Regions from separate parts of the Homo sapiens genome. Here regions 1 and 2 are each linked to region 3. Evidence: promoter capture Hi-C in 16 types of primary human blood cells and fetal thymus (Javierre and others, 2016). All regions are on one chromosome and are shown on one strand. The core of a region is centred on a gene start or on the middle of the fragment in contact, and the rest is flanking DNA. Distances in the headings are between cores, read along the strand shown. Region 1 overlaps VAX2 (ventral anterior homeobox 2). Region 2 holds the start of GFPT1 (glutamine--fructose-6-phosphate transaminase 1). Region 3 holds the start of FAM136A (family with sequence similarity 136 member A).

Region 1 (2,700 bases), core at 189-2,688, 620 kb before region 3:
TCTGAGTATCCAGGGAAGAAGGTAGAGATGCTATTTGGCAGAAGGAAGAGAAGAGAAAAAAGAGAGGAGAAGAGATAAAAAGAGAGGAGAGGAGAGGAAGAAACAGAGAGAGAAGCAGATATTTTGGAGAGCAGTTGGAGCACATACTCAGCAGAGCACTGGGAGGAAGTTCTGTGAGTAGCTGGTGCTGAATCCCTCGGGCCCAAAAGAGCCTTTGGCTTCCAGTCTCTTCCAATTCCTGGCTACACCATGGTTCCTGTTATTGAATTTCAACAAGGCTATGGCTTCTGTTTTTAATCCCTGGGGAGTCCATCCATTATCTGAGGGCACTTGAAGGAATTTCTTATCTTTTCCCCCAAAAGAGCTCTGACAGAGACTCTCAGATAACTTAAACCAGAGAAAAACCAGCCCTCCCCCCAAAATCTGACATGCTTTCTTGACATCTCCGCTGGGATCTCAAACTTAACTGATCCAAAACAAAATTCTTGATTATGCTCCCACCATCTTGCTTCTCCCCCAGTTTCTCAACTCATTATATGGTGTCACCATTCTCCCAGTTGTTCTACCCAAACCACTTCCTTTCCCTTGCCCTGGGCGTATAATCCATGAGCAAGTCCTAATATGTTCCAGCACTAAATTAGAGTGCCTCTCACATTAGTACGCTTCTCTCCTCCACCACTGCTCTGTTCAGGACCCATGTCAGTAGTTCCTACCTGTCCACACCTGTCCACTCCTTTCCCCTGTGGGTCCCTTCCCCAAGTGGCAGCCAGAGAACCTCTGTAAAATGCCAATCATCTCCTGTCACTTTCTCTTCAATGTATTACCATAGTCTCTAAGCATCGCATGATCCTCCCCTACCTACTTACCCAATTACCCTGTAGCTCCAGCCACTCTGGCCTTCTGATACTTCTAGAACATTCTATGCCAATTCCTGCCCCTCACGTCTTCATAGTTACCGTCTGCCTTGACGTCTCCTTCTGGCTCCTCATCTGGCTGTTTCTCCCTTGCCACTCAGGCCTAAGCTCAACGTCATCTTCTCAAAGAGGCCTTCCCTGAACACCCCAGTAAAACACTTCCTTTTAGTCTCTCTCCTATGACCCCATTTGAGCTCCCTCACAACACTCATCACTCCTGGAAATGCGGTTTGTCTTTGTCTCTGTGGATCTTAGCTGCACGAGGGCAGATGCCTGGTCTGTTTTGTTCTAAGCCAAAGCCCAAGTGCCTAGAAGAGTACCTGCTATATAGTAGGTATTCAATAATATTTTTGAACAAAATTATGGGTGAACATACTGAGAATGCCACAGAATTCTAGCTACAAGTTAGTTAACCTCTCTGAGGCTCAGTTTGCTTAAATGGGGATAATAGTACCCATAAAGCCATCTTCATGGGTACTATTACCCATGAATGCACCCGCTGCAAGTCTTGAGCAAGTTATCTATTTAACTTTTCTATGCCTCAGTTTCCTTCTATTTAAAGTGGAAACAATATACTCTTATTGGCTGGGCATGGTGGCTCACACCTATAATCCCAGCACTTTGGAAGGCCGAGGAGGGAGGATTACTTGAGACCAGGAGTTCCAGGCCAGCCTAGGAAACAAAGCGAGACCCCGTCTCTACAGTAAACATAAATAAATAAATAAATAAATAAGACTTACTGTTGTATGCTAATGAGGTGATTCAGGGTGGATCTCTAGGTAGTTTCAGGACTGGGGCTGGTTCTAGAAAGACCATACTTGTGATTAGAGGGTAGAAACTTTCAGCCGCCCCCATTCTTTCCTTCTAGGGAGGGGAGGGGAATGGAGATTGGATTATAGTCTTTTTTTGTTTGTTTTTGAGATAGAGTCTTGCTCTGTCATCCAGGCTGGAGTGCAGTGAAGCTAACATGGCTCACTGTAGCCTTGACCTCCTGGGCTCAAACAATCCTCCCACCTCAGCCTCCCAAGTAGCTGGGACTACAGGTGTGTGCCACCACACCCTGCAGTTTACAGTGTAAACTGTAAAAAATGTTTTAAAAAACTTTTTTTAGAGATAAGGTCTCCCTCTGCTGCCAAGGCTGGTCTTGAACTCCTGGACTCCTGAGCAATCCTCCCTCCTTGGCCTCCCAAAGTGCTGGGATTGCAGGCGTGAGCCACTGTGCCAGGCCGGCCTGGATTTAGTCTTGAACAAGGAGACCAGGAGAACTTCTGGTTGGCGAACACGTGGAAGTGCTGGGAATGGGGGCACTGGAAACGGCATGGGAGCTCCACGCACCTCCCCCTTACCTTGCCCTTTGTGTCTCTTCCATCTGGCTCTTCCTCACTCGTGTCATTTATAATAAACCAGCAAGTGTAGGGGAGGTGTTTCCTGAGTTGTGTGCGTCATTCTAGTGAATTGTCAAACCTGCAGAGGGCGATGTGGGAGCCCCCGGTTTTAGGCCAGTCCATTCAGAAGCACAGGTGGCTCCTGGAACTTGAGTCTGCTGTGGCACTGTCTTGTGGGACAGAGCCCTTAACTTGTAGGGTCTGTGCTAGCTCTGGGAATTAGTGTCAGTATTGAACTGTTGAATATACTCAGTGATGCTGGAGAATTGGAGCACTGCCTGCTGGTGGTTGGAACATACCATACACCTGGTGTTGGAAGAAAAATCTCACACGTATCCCATAAGGTTGTGGTGAGGACTAAACTAGTTAGACTATGTCACACCCTTGGAACAGGACCTGGT
Region 2 (2,700 bases), core at 165-2,664, 910 kb after region 3:
GCTAAGAAAATAGGACTTTTTTTCACTCATTCCAAAATAAATTTGATCTTTTACTTTGTGCTGTGGTCTAAAAGTGTTGGGTATGTAAAATCTAGTTCTAGCTTCAAGAAACTTACAGCCCAGTGGGAAAATACAGAAAATCATAAAATATCAAAGAATATTTCTTTACAGTGAGTAGCTCAAAGAGTAAGAGGTTAATGCATGTCTCCAAGTCTGTCTAGGGGGGATAAAAAAGGCTTTCCTGAAGAGGTAGCATCTAAACAGAGACGTGGTGGGGATTCTATGCAGAGTAACCAAAGTGTGCAAAAGATTTGAGAATCTTGGCCCAGTTGAGGAACTACCTGTTGAGCCTGTTGGGAGTGTATAGGGCTGGAAGGACGGCTAAGACCAGACACATGAACAGCAGTCAGCAGGCTAAGACCAGACACATGAACAGCAGTCAGCACTCCAGGAATTCTGTGTGCCATGTACGTTTTTGATACTACTCTACTCTAGAGCCATTATAGAGTTCTGATTACTCCACATTTGACTAAAGATACCATTTAAGGCTGTTTAAAGCAAATGCCCAGGTAATAAATTCTCAGAAACATCATCCCTCTCTAATCAAGTCTCTCTTGTCAGACATGGCGCATTAATTCATAGAATGAATCGTTCGTAAGTCAAACGCGCGGCTGTTAAAGCTAGGGAATTCCTAGCCGTCTCAGGTGGGTCATGGGAGGAGGTGGGCCAGCAGTTTCTTACGTCCAGGCTCATAGTCGGATAGTTGAGCCTTACATTCCTCCTCTACCCCTCCACAATAAACTGAGGGTTATGGAGGCAACGGATGCGGAGGGCTTTTAGGGGCCAAGCATATTACACAAGGAATTGAATTGCTTATTACCAGAGAGGCTGACCTTTGGGGCTTTACAGTCAAGAATTTTGTTATCTCTCTCCTCCCACCTCAACCTAATTCTTTGCAATTTTTTTCAGCCTTATGTTCCCCAGGATTCCCTTTTCATACTTCCTGCTTTTTTCCTCCTCTTTCCTCGCTTCGTGCAGTGCTGGCGCCTGGGGCCTGGGGCTGCACGGGGCACGCACCCGGGCTATTGCTTTGCTAACAATTCCATCCTTCTCTTTCCGTCATTCCCTGCCAGGTGCTGAGTTTCTCCCTCCCTCTCGGCTCGGTCCCTCCCGCGGCTCGCCCCGGGGCGGGCGTCTCCAGGAACTCCAGGCGGACGCGGCCACGAGCCACTGCCACGTCGCCGCCGCCAGCAGTCCAGCGCCTGCGTGGGCTCGGGGGGCGGGGCAGCGCTGGGAGGCGGGACTTGCGCGTGAGCGGCGCGTGAGCGGTTCAATGGAGCCTACGGGCGGCGGCGCGCTGCGCGCCGAGGGGCGGGGCCCGGCGGCGGTTGCTGGCGGAGCCCGGGAGGCGGAGAAGGCTGTCGTTGCCTTGGCCGTCGCATCCCCGAGGGAGTCGTGTCGGCGCCACCCCGGCCCCCGAGCCCGCAGATTGCCCACCGAAGCTCGTGTGTGCACCCCCGATCCCGCCAGCCACTCGCCCCTGGCCTCGCGGGCCGTGTCTCCGGCATCATGTGTGGTAAGGGGGCCGGGAGCGGGGGGCGTGTTGCCGGGTGGCGCTGGGGTGCGGTGCGGGTGCCGCTAAGGCCCAAGGCGACGGGCGGAAGCGGGAGTGTGGAGGGTGCGAAGTCTGGGTGATGGGCAAGGGGCGCCCAGTGGTGGCTGCGGGGGCGGGGGCCGGCATCCACGGGCGGGAGAGGGGGTGGCGGCCGGGAGAAAGGCACCTGAGAGGAAGGCGGGCCCCCTTTGCCGGGGGCTAGCGGGCGCCTTGGCGCGGAGAAGGAACCGAAAGGGGAGAGAAACGCCTTTATTGAAAAAGGAGGAGAGAGCTGAGGGAATTGAGGTGTGGAGGGGGTTGCCTTCAAAAGGGCCCACCAGGTGAGTGAGGAAACCTGTGGAACCTCGGGCGAGGTCTCTTGAACTTACCTTGCATTTTTCTAAAAATCTTTAAAAAAATATTTTACTTGTTTCTGGGGAGGCCCAATAGAAAACAGACCCTAGCTAGAGCCACGGTAGTGCCATTAAACGTGATACTTCCTGCCATCCCTTGTCTCAACAGAAACCATTGCTAATCAATAACTTGGTTCATGGGCTTAGACCTGATCCTCTGGTGGAAGAGGCCTTCAAATGTCTGTGGCGATAGGTTATACATAATTTATCATTTGCGTGTGCACCCATTAAAAATGCCAGCTCTGAAAAATATCAGTTATACCTTGGATGTATACCCCTTTAGAATACCAACTATGAAAAATATCATTTATCCCTTGCATGTGCATCCATTAAAAATACTAGCTATGGAAAGTTGAGCAAATATCTTTCCTAGAGCCTTAAAAAATTAAGGTTAGGCCCTTTTATTCCATGTTTTGAGAGTCGTTTATTATGACCTAAGTGTTAGTGAAAGAGACTTTGAGAATCGTGTCTGACATGACTGATATCTTCTAAAATTGGTGTTAATTTGGCTATTGCCAGTAAAAATAATTGTATTCTTACCTTTCTTATTGAAATTTACAACCGACTTTATCCCTGGAAGAAAGTACACTTTTTTTTTTTTTTTTTAAAGGGAAGTACCATTGTAAGAGAATTGAAAACTCTCTGGGAGACTTCTTATTTGCAGCCTTTTACACGAAGGAACTGAACAGGAGG
Region 3 (2,700 bases), core at 67-2,566:
TGGAGTTTGAGACCAGCCTGGACAACATAGCAAGATCCCATCTCCAAAAGAAAAAAAAAATGGTCAAGGATGTTCATAGTCACCACTTTATTCATAATAGCTACTAAGTGGAAAAGACCCAAACACCCATCAGCAGGGGAATGGATCAACAAATGTGGGCCGGGACCGATGCCTCATGCCTGCAATCTCAGCACTTTGGGAGGCCGAGGTGTGTGGATCCCTTGAGCTCAGGAGTTGGAGACCAGCTTGGCTAACATGGTGAAACCCCGTGTCTACAAAAAAAAAAAAAAAATTAGCCAGACGTGGTGGCACATGCCTGTAATCCCAGCTACTCGGGAGGCTGAGGCATGAGAATCACTTGAACCAGGGAGGTGGAGGCTGCATGAGCCGAGACCACATCACTGCACTCCAGCCTGGGTGACAGAGTAAGACCCTGTCTCAAAAAACAACAACGACAAATGTGGTATGTCCATTCAATAGAATACTACTCAGCAGCAAAAAAGAACCAACAACACAGCTCAATCTCGAAAGCATTAGGCTAAGTATTTTTCAGCAATATGCTAAAAAAGCCAGACAGAAAAGGAGTACTTATTGGATAATAACATACATATGACATTCTAGAAAGAGAAAATGTAATCTACAGTGACAGAAGCAGACCAGTTAGGGCAGGGGTGGGGAGATGGGGTAGAAAGGACGGAGATTGGGACAAGACAGAGTTTGGGTTTTTATTGTTGTTTAGAGACAGAGTCTCACTCTGTCGTCCAGGCTGGAGTGCAATGGCGTGATTTCGGCTCACTGCAACCTCTCCCTCCCGGGTTCAAGCAATTCTCCTGCCTCAGCCTCCCAAATAGCTGGGACTACAGGCATGTGCCACCACACCCGGCTAATTTTTGTATTTTTAGTAGGGACGGGGTTTCGCCAGGTTGGCCAGGCTGGTCTCAAATTCCTGAGCTCAGGTCATCCACCTGCCCACGGCCTCCCAAAGTGCTGGGATTACAGGCGTAAGCCACTGCGCCCGGCGGACAGGGTTTGTTAAAACTCATCAAGCAGCACGCCTAAGATCTGGGCATTTATCTGTATGTAAATTACATTAAATAATTTTAAAGAATGTAAAGGGAGGGACATGGGAGGGAGGAGGAAAGGCAGGCAGCAGCCGCAGGGCAGGTGTCCCAGTGACCGGTTCCCAAGCGGGAGGAGGGCGGTGGGCTCGCGGACACCAGCATGCAGTGGCTCCGTTCGGCCGCCAGGGGGGGGCGTGGGCCCTGGAAGGGCAGGCGGCGAAGGGCGGCGAAGGGCGGTGAGGGGGCGGGCCCGTACGCCGATTCCATATGGGCGCCGGCGCGGAGCGCCGCGGGGCAGCGCGGGGTCGCCATGGCTGAGCTGCAGCAGCTCCGGGTGCAGGAGGCGGTGGAGTCCATGGTGAAGAGTCTGGAAAGAGAGAACATCCGGAAGATGCAGGTAGCGGGGCTGGGGCCGAACCAGGACCCCCTTCTCAGCGGGTGGGTTCCGGGCCCTTCCCTCAGCCACCACGCGACGCCTTGCACTGCAGCCGCGTCCCCGCAGACCGGGTGTGGGCGGCCCTGGGGTCGCCGGGGCGGCCTCGGACAGGACTTCGGAAGCTTTGGCGGATCGGATGAAATCCGTGTGCCCTTGCCGTGCGCGAGGCTGTTTTCCGCCCCTTCCAGCCCGGGGCAGGAGCGTCCTCGGCGGCAGGTGGGAAGCCCCTGGTGGCAGGCGCTCGCCCCACCACCTTCCCCTCTTACGCGGCCCCTTCCGCAGGTGAGCGGCCCGAGGCCCAGCAGAGGCGCTGCCAACGTGAAAGACCAGAAAGGCGAGGACTTCCGGCCTCCCCGTTGGCCAGGTCATGCCTGCTTCTCTTGCGCCCAACCTCGCTTCACACAGCGCGGGTTTCTACACTGTTCTTCTCTGAGCCCCGCAATGCCTCTGTGTGTTTCGGTCCTGCTTCTCTCACGGAGTATGCGTTTCCCAGATAGTGCCCCTTGAGTCATTGATTAGTGGGTCGGCTGCCCTCTGGTGGAATTTGTATTGCTAGGTTGCTGACCTCTGAACCCCATGGAAGAGGCTCCTGGTTTTCAGAATTTGGCTTCGTCAGACCACCCTACCCTCACCCACTCGGGCGAACCTCTGTTCACCCAACCATCGGTGCAACAGGTGCCGATGAGCTAGCAGCAAGGACACCATGAAACACTACACTAGACATTGAGGATAATTTTCCCCAGTGGTGGTTTTAAGGTCCTGGTGTCTATTCTCAGGGAAGGTGAAAGCAGAAGGTGGAGAGAGAGGTGCAAATATCCACGTGGCCTTCTAACTCCTGTAGTGCTCCATAGTCATCTCTGTCCCCAGAGACTTTCCTACCTAACCTCTCTGCCCTTTCTCCCCAGGGTCTCATGTTCCGGTGCAGCGCCAGCTGTTGTGAGGACAGCCAGGCCTCCATGAAGCAGGTGCACCAGTGCATCGAGCGCTGCCATGTGCCTCTGGCTCAAGCCCAGGCTTTGGTCACCAGTGAGCTGGAGAAGTTCCAGGTGAGAAATATCCTAGACAGAGCACTGTAGTCCTTGATACAGACTTTTGCAGGAGATGACAAGCATTTGTTCAAAACTCTTGGCTTTAGTGTCTTGGTTCTGTTAACAGTTGTGATACTGATGGCCAACCAGTTTTCACAGGGTTTGAAATTTTGGA

Evidence for each region. Contacts are between HindIII fragments. The CHiCAGO score rates a contact against its expected background, and 5 or more counts as called.
Region 1: a fragment that was not itself captured here is called in contact with the fragment with the promoter of FAM136A in region 3 in 9 of 17 cell types (naive CD8 T cells, naive CD4 T cells, non-activated CD4 T cells and 6 more); the score reaches 8.5 in naive CD8 T cells.
Region 2: a contact is called between the fragment with the promoter of GFPT1 here and the fragment with the promoter of FAM136A in region 3, in 6 of 17 cell types (total B cells, fetal thymus, non-activated CD4 T cells and 3 more). The highest score is 11.4, in total B cells.

What each region holds. Positions count from the first base shown.
Region 1 is chr2:70,923,293-70,925,992 of GRCh38, reverse strand. The region is part of intron 2 of VAX2 (ventral anterior homeobox 2); the gene reads right to left. Among named protein-coding and RNA genes, the nearest start is that of ATP6V1B1, 11 kb to the left of the region's middle. The HindIII fragment of the contact is 8,926 bases long and covers 1-2,700 here.
Region 2 is chr2:69,385,941-69,388,640 of GRCh38, reverse strand. It overlaps GFPT1 (glutamine--fructose-6-phosphate transaminase 1), which reads left to right and starts at 1,414. Exons shown (of 20, transcript NM_001244710.2): 1 at 1,414-1,576. The coding sequence starts at 1,570. RefSeq lists silencers at 995-1,104, 1,165-1,834 and an enhancer at 1,063-1,622. The HindIII fragment of the contact is 6,543 bases long and covers 1-2,700 here.
Region 3 is chr2:70,300,683-70,303,382 of GRCh38, reverse strand. FAM136A (family with sequence similarity 136 member A) reads left to right here and starts at 1,316. Exons shown (of 3, transcript NM_001329752.2): 1 at 1,316-1,779; 2 at 2,403-2,543. The coding sequence starts at 1,372. RefSeq lists a silencer at 1,127-1,396 and enhancers at 1,082-2,030, 2,031-2,700. The HindIII fragment of the contact is 2,364 bases long and covers 1-1,621 here.